Regions from separate parts of the Homo sapiens genome. Here region 2 is linked to region 1. The links are contacts of gene promoters, found by promoter capture Hi-C in blood cells and fetal thymus (Javierre and others, 2016). All regions are on one chromosome and are shown on one strand. The core of a region is centred on a gene start or on the middle of the fragment in contact, and the rest is flanking DNA. Distances in the headings are between cores, read along the strand shown. Region 1 holds the start of BUB1B (BUB1 mitotic checkpoint serine/threonine kinase B). Region 2 holds the start of BAHD1 (bromo adjacent homology domain containing 1).

Evidence for each region. Contacts are between HindIII fragments. The CHiCAGO score rates a contact against its expected background, and 5 or more counts as called.
Region 2: a fragment that was not itself captured here is called in contact with the fragment with the promoter of BUB1B in region 1 in 1 of 17 cell types (fetal thymus); the score reaches 5.5 in fetal thymus.

The regions. Positions count from the first base shown.
Region 1 is chr15:40,158,313-40,166,047 of GRCh38, reverse strand. It overlaps BUB1B (BUB1 mitotic checkpoint serine/threonine kinase B), which reads right to left and starts at 4,979. Exons shown (of 23, transcript NM_001211.6): 1 at 4,793-4,979; 2 at 852-995. The coding sequence starts at 4,827. RefSeq lists enhancers at 3,824-4,588, 4,596-4,725, 4,746-4,845, 7,719-7,735. The HindIII fragment of the contact is 2,113 bases long and covers 4,071-6,183 here.
Region 2 is chr15:40,434,465-40,442,199 of GRCh38, reverse strand. BAHD1 (bromo adjacent homology domain containing 1) reads right to left here and starts at 1,247. Exons shown (of 7, transcript NM_014952.5): 1 at 932-1,247. It also overlaps a transcript of IVD not described here. RefSeq lists silencers at 1-31, 752-811, 1,260-1,445, 872-1,541 and enhancers at 197-696, 697-1,198, 2,004-2,541, 4,693-5,230, 5,231-5,769. The HindIII fragment of the contact is 4,775 bases long and covers 1,769-6,543 here.

The sequences.
Region 1 (7,735 bases), core at 3,730-6,229:
GGACCCATCTCTACTAAAAATACAAAAATTACCCAGGCGTGGCGGCGCACGCCTGTAATCCCAGCTATTTGGGAGGCTGAGGTGGGAGAATCACTTAAAACCGGGAGGCAGAGGTTGCAGTGAGCTGAAATCAGGCCACTGTACTCCAACCTGGGTGATAGAGGGAGACCCTGTCATATTAAAAAAAAAAAAAAAATCCAAAGAGATGAATAAGAATAGTCATTGCATTATAATCCCAAATTATGATATTTTGCCAGTAATGGCAGTATTTCTTTTTGTCAGAGATTGAAGGTAGAAACTGATACTCTGATTTACCTTTTTTTTTAAAAAGCATATTTATCAAAACATGTATTAGTTAAAGGAGATCCACAGGTCCATTTGAATAACATAAGAGTATTTTTCAGCTTTTATTTATCCAGAGTTTGTTAAAATTATTGAGAACTTTCTGGTATAAATTCAATTGTTCTGAGGTTTACATGTCTTTGGAGACCACTTCTTTTTTTGTCATACTCTCAAAAATAAGTTCCTAACATAATACTTTTGGGAAGCATTGCAATATAATACTTGCTTTACTATGCTTATCACTGCCCCCTGTATAAAATGTATTTCTATTGATAAAAAGAGTTTCGCTGCACCACAGTGAAATGAAATCCTATAGCCCTTGTTCTTAATTATACCTGAGGACATCTTCAGATAGCTGTCATGTGATACGAAAGCAGGTAGAGAACAGATTCTCATACTACCAATTTTTGAAAAGTACTCATTATGCCATCTCTCATGGATCCACACCCACGTTATCTACAACATTTAGGATGAATGACGACAGGTTGAGACTCAGCCATTCTACACACCGTTTCTGCTGCTGAAGAGTATTGTTACAGGCAGATTCTTGTGCCAGTGCTCCCTGAAGCGTGGACATGATCCGCCCTTGCCTTAAAGGTTGTACATTTTCTTTACTCAGTTCCCATTCATCTCCCTCCAGGGACATGGCTTCACTGTGAAGAAGGAAACAAATGTAAATCTCATACCAACATTGACTATTATAGCACTAGATTATTGTAAATGTCTTCCGAAAGGTGATTATTCATGGTCTTGGGTTGAATATAGTGGACTGACACATAATTATTATTATTATTATATGCCTAAGCTTCTTTGTTAGCTGTTTTTCAAGTTTATGGCTACAGTATTGCCTGATAGAAGACAACTTGGCAAGGATATCGTAGACAGTACTATAAGAATAGGGCATGGCTATGTGCGGTGGCTCACACCTGTAATCCCACCACTTTGTGAGGCCGAAGTGGGAGGATTTCTTGAGCCAGGAGTTTGATACCAGCCTGGGCAACATAGCAAGACCCTGCCTCTTTCTTTAAAAAAAAAAAAAAAAAGAAAAATGAATAGGGCTTAAGGCAGAAAGAAAAGAAGGGAACAAAAGTGTTATAAATTTGGCAAAGTAGACAAAAAGGCAACAAGTAATTCTATGCCTACCATTGAATGCATCATCTAGTTTAATTTAAAATTAGTGCCGGATGTGGTAGCTCATGCCTGTAATCCTACCACTTTGGGAGGCTGAGTCAGGAGAAGTGCTTGAGCCCAGGAGTTCAACACCACCCTGGGCAACATAGGAAGACCCCCATCTCTACAAAAAGTGAAAAATTAGCCAGGCGTGGTGGTACACGCCCATGGTCGTGGCTACTTAGAAGACTGAGGTGGGAGCATTGCTTGGGTTCAGGGGTCGAAGCTGCAGTGAGCCATGATCACACCACTGCACTGCAGCCTGGGCAACAGAGCAAGACCCTGTCTCAAAAAAAAAACATTAAAATTAGCAAAGTGTGGGTGAGACTAATGTCCCATGTTTCAATGATGATTCAAAACTGAAGTTTGTACATATAAGTAGCTAAAAGCAGAAGCAAACAAACACAGTTTACTAGTCACAATTCCCTGCATCCTCACACCCAATTCTAGCAAGCCTACTGAGAAAACCCCCGAAACGTTTTGGAGGTAATTCCCATTACGTATTCTGCAATTCAGAGCCCTGCAATGGTTAGATAGAAGACTATTTCTAAGAGACATTACCTCTGGACTTAAAACAAAAAGAGAGACACATTGGCACTAATCTTTGAAATAGAGTGAAAGTTATATGTGACTTCAGTCTAGATGAGCACTGAAAACTCGTTGGAGACAGCTTCTTGGAAACTATGACTTTAATCAAAATGACATGTAACAAAACCAATTTTACCACAGGCTGATCGACATAAACAAAAGTTAAGTTCCTATGGCATATTTCTGGTCACAAAAACGTCACCAAACTTCTGAATAAAGACTCGAAACAAACATTTTTAATACTAAATATTGAAATAAATGTGAGCTATCCGTACACTTAAGAACATTTAATGAAAACAAAAAATAATCATTTACCCAATTTTTGGCGAATCAGTGAATGACTGCAGTCATAGTGTTGGTGGGTTAACTCAAGGAATAAATGTTTGAGAGTGAAAATTTCAAGAAGTACCTCCTACCACCACAAAGTTCAAAAAACAAATAGTAACACTATAGTGGGCATGCTGGGCACTTTCATAAGGCATTGTTTATTGTCATGCATTTATATGATTATCATACACACTTTATATAAACTTTTTAAATAGAGACAGGCCTTACTATGTTGCCCAGGCTGGTCTTGAACCGCTGAGCTTAAGCAATCCTGTTGCCTCAGCCTCCCGAAGTGCTGGGATTACAGGTGTGAGCCACCGCTCCCAGCCTTTACAGATTTTTATTTTACAGTAATTTGTATTCATTCCTTCATTCATTTTCCAACTCACTTATTCTAGTTCGGGGTTGAGGGTGGCCAGAGCCCATCTCAGCAACTCAGAGAGGAACCAACCCTGGACAGGACACCACTCCATCACAGGGAGCATCACATTCACACCCATTCAGACTGGGATCATTTAGACACGCCAATTAACAGGCACATCTTTGGGATGTAGAAGGAAACTGGAGTACCTAAGGAAACCCATGCAGACATGCGGAAAACATGAAAACTCCACATACACAGCAGCCCCGCAATGAATTGATTTTTTTTCTCATCAACATTATAACGAAACGATGTTATACCAGGACCTGCTCTATATTGTGTGAACTCTGTAAAGGTAAGGGCTATGCCATTTATTTTTGTATGCCCATGATCTAATACGAGATATAACACTATTATGCCCTGTTTGTTGAATTCATCTGAACTTTCTTCTCTTGCTCTTAAAAATAGTGAATTACACTATCTCAGTTAAATATCCCAAATTGAGCTAAGACTGCCCCCACTTCCTCCCAGACCTGCTCCTCCCACAGTCTTCCTCTTTCTCAAATAAATGGCAATCCCATTCTTCAGTTACCCAAGCCAAAAATCTTAGTGCCAACTTTGATGCCCTTCTCATACCCCTCAGTCAGTCAGCAAGTCCTACTGGTTCTACCTTCAAAATATATACAGAAATCAACCACTTATCATCATCTCCACTGTTTTCCACCTGGCTCAACTCACTTTTGAGCTGAATTATTTCAATAACCTCTTAACTGGTGTCCCTTGCTTCCATCCTTTGCTGCCTTTAGTGTATTCAACACTACAGCCAAAGTGACCCCATTTAAACCCAAGTCAGATTATGTCTTTCCTTTGCTCAAAACCTTCCAATGACTTTTGATTACAACTAGAGTAAAAGCTAAGTCCTTACAATCTGCATCTTCACCATTTTTACATAATATCCTTTTACTCTTCTAGTTAATTCTGCTCCAGTGACAATGGCCTTGGACATGCCAGGTGCAACTTCCTCCCCTAGCTCTCACCCTCAGCCTTTGTACTCTCCTCAGATATAGAACCTCTAGCTTTTGAGATTCCTTCAAGTCTTGACCAAAGTGACATCTCCTCAGTGAGACTCCAGTGTTCAAGTTAAATTGCACCAATCCCCACCCCCAATATTCACTACACCCAGTTGCTTTATTATTTTTTTTAGTACTGACCACATCTCCACCTAACAGTTTGTCTTTATTGTCTGACTCCCCCACCTTCATCCCATGCCAGAACTTAAGCTTCATGAGGGTTGAGATTTTTGTGTCTGTATATTTGCTGCACTCAGAGCTTAGCCAAAAAAATACTTGTTACATGAATGAAAGAGCCCATGACATAGCACTTATCTAGGTATTGCGGGCACCACAGTGAAAACACATACAGATTTCCAACCTAGAACTGCAATATAGTTTTTTTAATACAAGGAAAAGCCGCAAACATGCAGAAAAAGGCTTTTAGATCTCTATGTTATTGGCATAATTTAGATCTCTATGATATTGGCTAAAGGCTTTCAGATCTCTGTGCTATTGGCATAGCACCTGCCATTTGTTGAGCGCTTATTTGGAAGCAGTTACTTAACAAATACTTTGAATTCCCCCAGAACCACGTAAGGCAGCATTAACATCAGCATTTTCCATACAAACGATTTGCCCAAGGTCAAACAACTAGCAGGTGGCTGAGCTGAGTTACAAACAGACAACATTGCAACTTCCAAACTCTTTGTTCCGCTGGGGTCCCGCAGCCTTCTTCGCTTTGAAGCTGGATGCGGCAGGATTCGCACGTGCCCTCAGTCCACTGCGTTTTCACCTCCACCTCCGGCATTCTACTCCAAAAGGAAGGAGGCTCCGGTGGGGTCTGTTCTGACGGTGCCGATCTCCCCCTCGACTGCTCCGAGCGGAGCCTTCTATTACCTACCAGGCCGTGTCCTCTCAGGCCCAGCCCCCAGCAGCTTTCTCCCGTACCTACCTCAGAGCACCCCCTTCCTTCTTCACCGCCGCCATCCTGCATTCCTGGCTCAGGTCCTCGTCCTGCTGCAGGCCTTTCCTCTGGGCCACAGACCGCCTGGGCTTTCTTCCGCAACCTGCCCTCGGAGCTACAGAAGCGACCAAGGCACGTACACGACTCCCTAACAAACCGGCCACCTCAAGCCCACACCCCTAGCCGCCAAGTTTCAAATTTAACGGTCCCGCGCGGTCGACGTGGCCACGCCCCTCCGCTCCTCCGTGCTCTCGCGTCTCGCCCAAGGCATTCTGGGGCTTGTAGTTTATGCCTGTTTAGTCCGCGAACTCGCGGTGCATAATGGGAATTGTAGTTTTTGGGATTCAATGGCCGTGGAAGTGCAGCAGGCTTAGGCAAAACAAATACCCCCAGGTGCTGTCTTGAGTCGCGGCTCGAAGCCGAGTCTCTGAGCCGAGCGAGGAACACTTAAAGCACCAGAACTTCTTTGCTGTTTTGAGTGTTGGGAGATGTCTCTGAGTGCTTGCACTTGGCGTGACTCTTGTAGGGTGACTACCCCTGCTGTCTGCCCCAAATCTCACCCGTCCGGAGTTCTTAGGCCACTGACCTAGCTGTTTCCTGCCCCACCCTTGAATTCAAAAAGCTGGATTCTAGTTCTGTAAAATCATACCAAATGTGCAACCTTAGGCAAGCTACATAATCTTTCTGACCATCAGTTTTCCTCATCTATAAAGTGATGATACTGTCTTGCTTTCTCTTCTGCTCAGTCCACAAGCAGTAAACACAGCCATGCTATGGTTCCCAAGGTGTTACCTCTTTTCCCCTTCAGGGGACTAGCCTTGACTGACATTAAACTGTTTGTTGCAATTTCAATTTTCTGAGGAAGAAATTGTGATAGCTCAGATGTGACCAGGGGAGTAGAGTCTTTTTGTTTGTTTGGTTGGTTGGTTTTGTTTTAGAGACAGGGTCTTCTTCTTGCTCTGTTGCCCAGGCTGGAGTGCAGTAGCCCCATCATGGGGCTACTGCATTCCAGCCTCCAACTCCCGGGGTCAAGTGATCCTCCCACCTCAGCCTCCGCAGTAGCTGCGATTACAGGCATTAGCCACCTTGAGGAAGGAACAGGGTCATTTAAGAAAGCCCAGGTACAGGGGAGTTCTCCTTTATGACTGTGGGGATGGTCAGAGAGGTGGCACTTCCCAGAGGCAGATGCTGAGGATACTGTCCACTACCCTCTGGTTCTTAGTTCCCAGCTTTCTGTCTTTGTTCATGTTATATAAGTCCTTCTTTCCTCTGAATCATCAGGACTCTTGATTCCAAAGAAGTAGAAATCCAACTTAAATCGGCCTACTCAGAAAAGGGAATTTACTGTCTTTTATATATAAAAGACTTCAGATAAAGCTTAACCCAGGACTCATGTGGACTGGGCCTCTCTCCATTTCTCGCCTCTACTCTTGTTGTTGGCTTATTGTCATTCTCCATTGGGTAACAGATTCACGACTTTATCCTTACAGGTTCAAATTCAGACTTAGGAGTCACCCTGCTTAACCCCTTCCTCCCAAACAGTCACTGGGGATAGTGGATTCAGGGCTTTGATTGTTCAGAACCAAGTCATGTGTTTCACCTTGGGACTGAGAGAGGGGAAGGGGTGATTCCTCATAGGAAATTTTGGTTACTCTTTACATCAAAGTCCTCCACATCCAGGAAGCTTTCCTGGATCATATGAGGTGTGGTGCGTGGGATTCTCTCACTGGCTCATTTTATCTCTTACCTTATGTCAGTACTGGCCTAGCACTTCATTTTCTTTCAACAGGGTGTCCTGTTCATATCTACAGCTTCTCAATTTTGACTATTTCCTACAAACAATCTTGGAAACGTAGTGTTTGGTCTTTTGATCTCAGTCTTTCCTATAACCTAGTCGGATTCCCCATAAACTCTGCTACGATGTAGAATGCATTCAGGCTAAACCCCTTGCTTGTTTCACTACGGGAAAAGAAGGAGGTAGGTAAAACAAAACTCCAAAATGTATGACAGAAGGTACTCTGTGGTTTAATTTGGAAAATGAGTTTTTAGGGATGTCCCATGAACTGATGGGTGGAGCTCCCAGCAAGCAAGGTTTGCCTTTGAGGAAGAGGAATGCTGAAAGCAGCAGGGTTTGTCTGTGGACTTGGGGGAACTGGAGTGAGTGGGGCACAGGATATCCACCTTGGATTGTGACCCTTTGTTGGCCTGGTCCCAAGGACTTACGGTTTTGTGGAGTGAGGGCCTGAGGCAGTGGCCTTAAGAGCTGGTTCTATGTACTTTGGAAGGCTGAGGCGGGCGGATCACTTAAGGTCAGGAGTTCAAGACTAGCCTGGCCAACATGGTGAAACCCCGTCCTACTAAAAATACAAAAATTAGCTGGGTGTGGTGGTGCATGCCTGTAATCCCAGCTACTCCGGAGGCTGAGGCAGGAGAATCGCTTGAACCCGGGATGCGGGGGTTGCAGTGAGCTGTGATCATGCCACTGCACTCCAGCCTGGGCAACAGAGTGAGACTGTCTCTAAAAAGGAAAAAAAAAAAGCTGGTTCAGTGTGATGCCAGCCTCCAACAGCACTGCCTTCGTGCCCAGGCGCCGAGGGCACAGCCTCACTTGGCCATTCTGAGAGCACAGGGAGGCCCTCCCTGGAGCCAGACATCAGCACCCCACAGTGGACACCAGCAGAAGCAAGATGTCCTCCAGTAGCCTTGGAGACAGAGGCCATCAACCAGAGAGAGCTTGAGCAGGACAGGAGGAACATGGCAGATGCTCTGAAAACACCCAGACCACCTAGGGAAGGCTTCAAAAGGAGGGACTCATTCAGTGCCACACATACAGTTGCATAAATATTGCTGCATCCGAGAGTGCCTGTCACGCAAATGGGGACATTTTTCTGCTTTTTCTACTCAGAGAAGGCACCTTCAAAAGTGCCCAGA
Region 2 (7,735 bases), core at 2,907-5,406, 280 kb before region 1:
CGCCTTTGTCCGGCGCTTCACCGCCAAGCGAGCCCCTCGGGCCCGACCTGACCCGGCCCCCAGCCCCAGAAGAGAGGCGGCGGAGCGAGCAGGGCAAGACCAGGCCGGGCCGCGAGCACAGGGTCCCGCTGTCACTTGGAGGCGGTCTGACAACTTCGATTCCCCCCGCCACACCTCGGACTCGGCCGCCGCCCCGCAAGGTCCCCGCAGGGCCTCCCGCGGCCCACACTCGCTTTTCGAACCGGTCCCCTTCCGTCTTCGGCGCCTCCCTTCCTCTCAGCCCGATCGAGTCGGGTCTACACTACTCCCCCCTGCCGCCCCCGGCCCGGCGCGGCCCTCATCCCCTGCCCCCCATCCAGCAATAACCGGTCAGCTCCCAGCGCGGGAGGGCGCCCCCCACCCTGAGCGGGCGATCCCGCGGCGCCGCCCCCGGCCGCGGCCCCTTGCCTCGGGGACCGCGATGGGGGAGGGGGCGCGGCGGGGGCCTCGCCGCCCGCGCACTCGGAGGCGAGCCGGCTCCGCCGCGGCGAGGAAAGACCGGCGTCCTCCCGCCCTCCGCAGCTCGGGACGCCCGCGCCGCCGCCGCCCGGCCGAGCTGCCACCCTGCGGCCGCCACCCACCCCGCCCCCGGCCTGCAAGGCGGGCGGCCCCCGGGGGCTGTCACCTCGAGGCGCGCCGCGTTCCCCGATGGCGGGACCGTGGTGCCGGACCCAGGGGAGGGAGGTGGCGCGAGCGGGCGGGCGGCCGCACCTGCTTCGCGTCGTCCGTCCGTCCGTCCCTTCCCGGGCTGGCGGGGGCGGTGGCGCGGCGCGCTCGGTGGGGCGCGCTGACGGGCGGCCGGTGCTCTCCCCCTTCGCTCTTCTGCCTACCTCGCTCGCTCCCTCCCTCCAGCTCGCCCCTTCCCCCTCCTCGACCCCGGCCCCTGACTCACCAGAACGGGCGGCGCGGACGGCGCGGCTCTGGGCGCCCGCAGGCCCCGGCCGGGCTGGAATCCGGCGGCTGGAACCCCCCGGGGGCGCTCAATTCCCGGGCTCCACGCTGCTGCGTCAGCGCCTCCTCCTGGGGGCCGGGGCCGGGCGGGCGGAGCGGGGACCGCGGCCGGGCGGGGCCGTCGGGGGGGGCGGGCGCGCCTGGCCGGGGCGGGCGGACGGCGGGGGCCGGACGGGCGGGGCAGGCAGCCGGACGGGCGGGCGGCGGGGGCCGGGCTCCGGGATCCGCTACGCCGCTCGCGGTTCCCCCACAAACTCCCCGAGAGCGGAGCCTCCGCCGCCCTCCTTCCTGCTTCCTCGTCCCCAGCCAATCAGCAGCGCGCCCCTCGGCCAGCTCCGCCAATCAGCCGCCCCGCCCTGCGCTGGCTCCGCCAGCCAATCCGGCCCTCGGCTCCCCCTCCCGGTCTCTGACCAATCAGAACCGTGGGTCGGTCGTCCCAACGCAGGGGGCAGCACGAGGCGGCCGGGGGAGGCGGTGCGGGGAGTGGTGGGGCCTTGGGGGAGGGGTGCCGTGCCAAGGGTGGTGGCAAGGGGTGATTTTCTTTGCCGGCTTCTTGGATTTTTCTCTTCGTCTTCAGAACCTGAGCCCGTATCCCACGGTGACTCGACCCCAATCTCCCAGCTGCTAGCCCCCCCGGAAAAATCTTATCTCCCCCCGCCCTGGCCATCACCCCTCCGCATCCCCTTTCCCCCAAATCCTCCCCAGCACGCGCTGGAGAAAACTGCGGGCCGAGGAACACCCCATCCTCGCCGGAGGCTGCTGCCCCCAGGGCAAAGCTTCAGGAAGACCAGCCGAAAATCAAGCGAGAACAACCCCCCTTTCCTGCAGAAAGGGCCCCAGACTCCTGCAAAAGGGCCCCGACTGCTGAGAAGCCCCTCCCGCCCTTGCCTCATCTTTCCGACTTCCCTGCCTGCCACGTCTCCTTTCCTTTCCAGCAAGGTCGGTCCTGGCTCGGTAACCCCTCACCCGCATCTCTTTTTCCTCTTTCTGCCCTTCACCTACCGCCCCCAACCCCAGCTCCTAATTCACCCTCTTCAGAAGCAGAGTGTGGAGCCCTCATCCATTTCCAGCTGACAGCAGAGCCTGGTCTGTGAGTCCTTGACACCCACACACCCTCTTCCACCACCGCGGGGAACATCAGAGCTCTCCGGGGGAGGGAGAAAGGGGCGGGCAGCCTGACAGGAGCGGCTGGACTCCCTCCCTCGCGTCCCCAAGCTACGGGAGAACCAAGTGTAGACACTTACCTGGCTTCCCCCTAGTCACCAAATGCTGTGGCTCCGTCTCTCACCCCCACAGACGTGCCCTCCCAAGCCCGAGCACGCTCGCGGGGTCAGTGGGGTGGGTGGGCACAGCAGGCTAAGGGCACAGAGAGAGATGGGAAGTCCCTGTTAGGTGCGGGAAGGAGCTGTGTCTTGGGCACCTGGTGGTGCCAGAGCCCGCCTAGGACTTCACTAAGCCCGGGATATGCACACAGTAGGTTCTCGAGAAATGCTGAGTTCACCCCTGAACAAAGCCTCATTCCCAATTCAGGCGGGGGAGGGGAGCTTTAGGAGGTAAAAGGAGCAGCGGCAGAAAGGGTAGTGTCAAGTCACCAGAGCGCTGGAGCAGCCCAGGGAGGGGCTGGGCCCCAGGAACGCCTTGGGCAGAGAGAGGCACCCAGAGTGCTGAGGCTGCCCAGGCAAGCAAGGAAAACCCAGCCTTGGAGTGTGGCCCAGGGGCTTCGGAGGGGCTCCTCCTGCACCACACACAGCGCCCAGCCTTTCCTAGACCTTGGGACTCCAGCGCTCACCCAGGCAGCCTTTTAAGACAATCAGGGCTGCTAGCCAATATGGCTGGGAAACAACCTCCCCCAGAAGCAGTTCCCCATCTGCCTCCAGAGCTGTCCAGGGGGCCCAGACTGTCTTAGCTGTTTGGGGGGACACACTTAAAGGAGGGGCCCCCTCAGCAGGGAAAGTGTGTGAATGGAAGCTAAAAGCTAAAACTGTGGCACGGAAATGTCTCGAAGGTCCAGGTTCTCCCACTGCCACTTCTCCCACCTCCCACCCTTGGGGAAAGCAAAACCCCAAAGCTGTAAAAGTAGGACGCTGAAAGATTTCTCCCCTTCCTGGACAGGACAGAGGTTCCCGGCAGCGCCCCCCCAACACACACCAGGCCAGCCCTACTCCCCACCTCACAGAATTCCCCCTCTCCCTGTCCCAGTCTGGCCCATAGGCAAATTAACCCCACGGTGGCCCCCACTCGTCAGAGATTGGTGGTGGAGGGTACAGCAGTGGTGGCCACGGGGGCAGAGCCATGCTACAGGCCAAGACAGAAGAGAGGCCGGGCTCCTGTCTGCAGCCCAGGCGGCGCTGACCTTGGCAGCCACTTCAGGCCTGATAATGGGCAGGGATGGAGGCCGGGAGGGCCAGAAGAGGAATGTACCTGGTGGCAGGGAAGGAGACCTAAGTGGCAGGAAGCCCACGTTCAGCCGAGGAAATGGCAGCAGGACGAGGTGGCAGGATTGGGTGTCTTCCTGGTGTTGGCATTAGAGGGCCCTGGGGTGAGCAGGGGAGTGTTGTCTTATCTGGGGTCTCAGTGGGAGGGAAAGGAAGGAATACCAACCGGAGAGGAGGCAGAGTAGTCATGACAGCCCACCAAGTGCCTGCCTGGCCGCTGGAGGAGTTCTCCCCTCAGAGCCTCCAGTGTGGGTGGCGGTGTCCGCTGCCCCAGGAGGCTCTGACTGAGTGGGCTATGGTGCGGGGACACGGGCTGGCTAAAGGCACTAAGTGTTCCTCCTGTGCCAGCTCACTGAGCCACCTCTGTCCCCCCTTCCTCCCTATTGCTTGTTAAAACAAGCCAGCAAAGAATAGGCAGGGGCTACACCCTGCCTGTCCCCCAAAGGGAACTTTTGGCCTCTCCTAGCCTCCTTCACCCAACTTTCAGGGACCTCTGCAACTGGGCCTCCTTCTTTCCCAGTCCAAAGCCCTTCCACAGCTGGAAAGGGCTCCACCTCTTCCTCCTTCCTTCGGTCCTGTAACCTTTCCTGAGTGAATGCTGCCTCCACCCCACTTCACTGGGCAGCTGTGCCAACGCCTGGGGCCCATCACCTTTCCTCTCCCTGGTATGTTTGGCAGCCCAGAGGTCTCCCACTGAAAAAAGGGTTTGGCACTTGGTGTAGAAAGAGGAATGGGTCCATCGGGTCTCCGGAGTCTTTCCCGGGCTGCTGCCAGGCAGGGGCTCTCTCTCCCCAGACACCTCCAGACCCATCGGGAAGGGTTAACTGCCTCAGAGGGAGATGCCCTAGAGTAAAACATCCAGGGCCAGAGAGACCACGCGGCGCACCCTTCCCCCACCACACACAACCAGACTGACAGCCGGGACAGACTGGCTGCTCGGTCATCTCCAGCCCAGCCCCAGCACCTCCCCGCCACTGCCCGCTGCAGTCCCCGAAGACCGCCTGGCCTGAGATCCAACCACCTGGCACCAGGCAGGGCACCCCAACGGCAGTGCAGTCCCTGCAGTGGTGGCAGTGACCACTTTCTCCTCCCTCCAGCCCCTGCCCAGGTCCCACCTTCTTTCCTGGAAGTGGGGCAGCCCCTGTCCCAACCCCCAGAGCACCTGAAGTCTAGGTCCCCACAATACTTACTGAGCCACCCGGCTCCTCAGCCCCACTGGACGAACTGAAGGGCACAGCTCTTTGGGGGAGGGACACCAAGGCAACAATTAAATGCGGCAGCAGCACTTGCCCCCTCCCCCATCATAGGAAGCCCCTGGGGGGTGGGGGAATAAAGAAAGCTGGACTTTTATAGTCCTTTTGCTGTGACCCACTCCCTCTTAAAGGGATTGGAACACCCCTCCTTAAAGGGATCTCCAGAAATTATTTGCCCCCCAGGCAAATCCTAGTGCAGAAGTCTGGTCTTTACCTGCGGGGGCCCTCTTCCCTAGGGATGAGGAGGTAGAAGTGCTCCTCCTGACTCTTGAGCTGGAGGGGCAAGGTACCCTCCTACCACCAAGGAGCCAGCTGTTGAGTGCCCAGTGAGGAACAGGACCTCTCCCTCCCCTGAAGGCAACTACGGCCCCGGCCTTGGGGGTGGGGAGGTCCCGGTGAGGTAGGGACTGTGTGGGACTCAGTCTCCGCACAAGAAGGAACAAGGGGGCTGCATGCGCTCAGACTTTGGGGAACACATGTCCATGGCGCTGTGTCCAAAACCCCCATCTGCCCAGCGCTAGCCTCCAGATTGCCGGCCAGGGGACGTCTTTGCAGTCTGCCTCTCCCCGTAAAAGCTGTTTCTGCATTCTCCTTCCCGCTCTCTGAATCCCGTCTCCTACCCTCTTTGGGGCCCTATGCCTTTCTCTTGGGGTGCATTCTCTGCCCCTCACCCCAGTCGCCTCCTCCGCAGCCCCAACAACTGCGGGCTACACCCTATTTCAGGCTGTCTCCAGACCTAATCGGAGTGTCCCCGGGGTCCTTCTCACCCCGCCCACACCCCCGACTACCGTCAAGTGGTGGGGGATGGGCACCCCCCAGGCTCCCGGGAGCCCAGCAGAGTCGCATCTTAGCCCTTGGGCTCACTTGGTCCCCAGTCTCACCCTGCCTCTGGGACTGCAGAGTTCAAGGAGGGGGTGGGTGTAAGTGGGGGAGGAGGTGTCCGAGGGTACTGCAGCCTGAGAGAGGGACAGAGTCGGAAGTGGGCACTCACTGAGGCCACCCCCCCTCTGCCCCTCCTCCCTTCGCTGGGGGAGGGTCGACGCTGCCGGGGGGAGAGGTTCCCCGGCGCTCAGGAGCCCTCCAAGGCCCCCACCCCTACCACTCCCTAGAGGAAAGACTCCCCCAAGGGCTGGAGCTCCAAGCCCTCCCCCCGGCAGCTGCGGCAGCCTCCGGCTGAGGTCAGGCTCCACCTCCTTTCTCCAGAGGGAGAGCGTGGAGGGTTGTTTGTTGTTGGGGTGTGAGAGAGAGAAGGTTCGAGATCACCTGGCCCGGTGGGCACGGCTCCGGAGCGGGAGCGGGAGCGGGAGCTGGGCCGGGTGGGCTGGCTTGGGCAGGAGCCCGCCGCAAGGGCGAAGGACTCCCCTCGCCCACCCCCAACCCCGGCTCCGAGCCCGCGGCCTGGGCGCCCCCTCGTCGCGCCCCCGCCCGGCTCTCCGGCCCGCGTAGGGTGCCAGGACGCCCCAGGCAGAGGGCCTGCCTTAGGGTTACCACGGGGAGCCAGGCTTTCCTGCTCTCCAGGAGCCTGCAGTCGGAGGCTGGGATGGGCTGGGGCTAGAGAGACAAGTAGACAGAAAACAGAGTGATAACTTTATGACAGCAACACGTAATGGCTGCTGAGGACGAGGGAAGGCTGCCAGGGTCTGCCCCTGGCAAGGGGCTGGGGTGAGGTGCGGGGACGTTCCAAGAAGGGGCTAAGCCGAGAGCGGAGCCTGAAGGAGCAGGCACTCTTCGGGCAGGCTGCCATAGGTAGGGGAAAGATGAGGACACCCCAAGCGCCGAGTACCAGTTTCAGCAAAGGTGCAGAGCTGTGGTATAGGGGTGAGGCAGCAGATGAGGCTGGAGAAGTGGGTAGGGCCACCTAAGCTTTGTAAACCCTGCCAAGGAGCTCTGTCCCAAAGACGTTGGAGAACATAGAAGGATTTTGAGGAAAGGAAGCTTCTGGTCTGAGATCCAAGAGGCGAGTTGGGGGAGCAGCACGCGGGGTGTGAGTTCAGGCAGGAGGATCTTGCATCTCAGTTCCCTCGCAGTGCTCACCTGCTCCAGGGACGTCTGACCTCGGGTCTCGCCCTCCCTCCCAGGTGGGTGTTGGGCGGAAAAGGTCTGCCCTAGGGGAAAGAGAGCCCTCTTTTAGCGCTGTCCACAACCCCAGCGGCTCCTGCCTGCCAACCAGGAGCTCTACCATCTCTTTCCCCGGGGAAGAAATGGAGAGACCCCCATGCTCCACTCCTCCCTCACTCGCTAAGATAGGCAGCCCTCCCAGAATCCGTGTCATTTCCGGAGCAGCAACAAGAAAGACAAACATGGGGACGAGCTTCGCTTCACCCTCCAGGTGCTTTTTCCCCCACCCCAGGTGGTGCACATTTCTCATAAAAACCATATAGGAACAGGGGCAAACGACATCCTATATTGGTTTCTCATTCTCGCCCCAATCTCAGTAGGTATATGCAATTACTATCGCCATTTCACAAATTAGGAAATTGAGGCTTAGGGCCATTAATGCCTGGCCTGAGCCACACAGGCAGGGCTTATACCCTAGCCGGAATTGTACCACTTGCCCAAGCCCCCAACACTGACTTCTGCAAGCTTGGAGAGGCTGACCCCACTGGACTTCTGAGGCCAGGGATGGCCAGGTTCAATAGTAAGGGGTGTGAGGGTGTCAGTGAAGCCTCATGCTATAGCCCTGCCCTTTCCTGTGAGCCTCTTCCCATGACACCGGGAAGCAGATTCCCTGGGGCTTTTCTTTGGGGTCTCCAGCATAGGTCGTGCCCATTCATATTTGTTTATGGATCTCCCAGAGTCCTCCAGAATCCTCATACTCACAGTCCAAGCCTGACTTCCTGGAAAGGTCTCCCGAAGCTCAGGTGAAACTCTCCTGAAGCTCAATTCCACCTTGCTCCCTGCTGCCCTGAACTCTATGCACTCCAAGTTGTCTCCTCCTCACACATTCCTGACCATCTGCTGCTTTGCCCGTAAGTCTTTATTTATAAGATTATAAACCCCTGGAGGGCAGGCCTATGGCTTTAACATCCTCTTTATGGCTTCCTGTGTGTCTAGCAC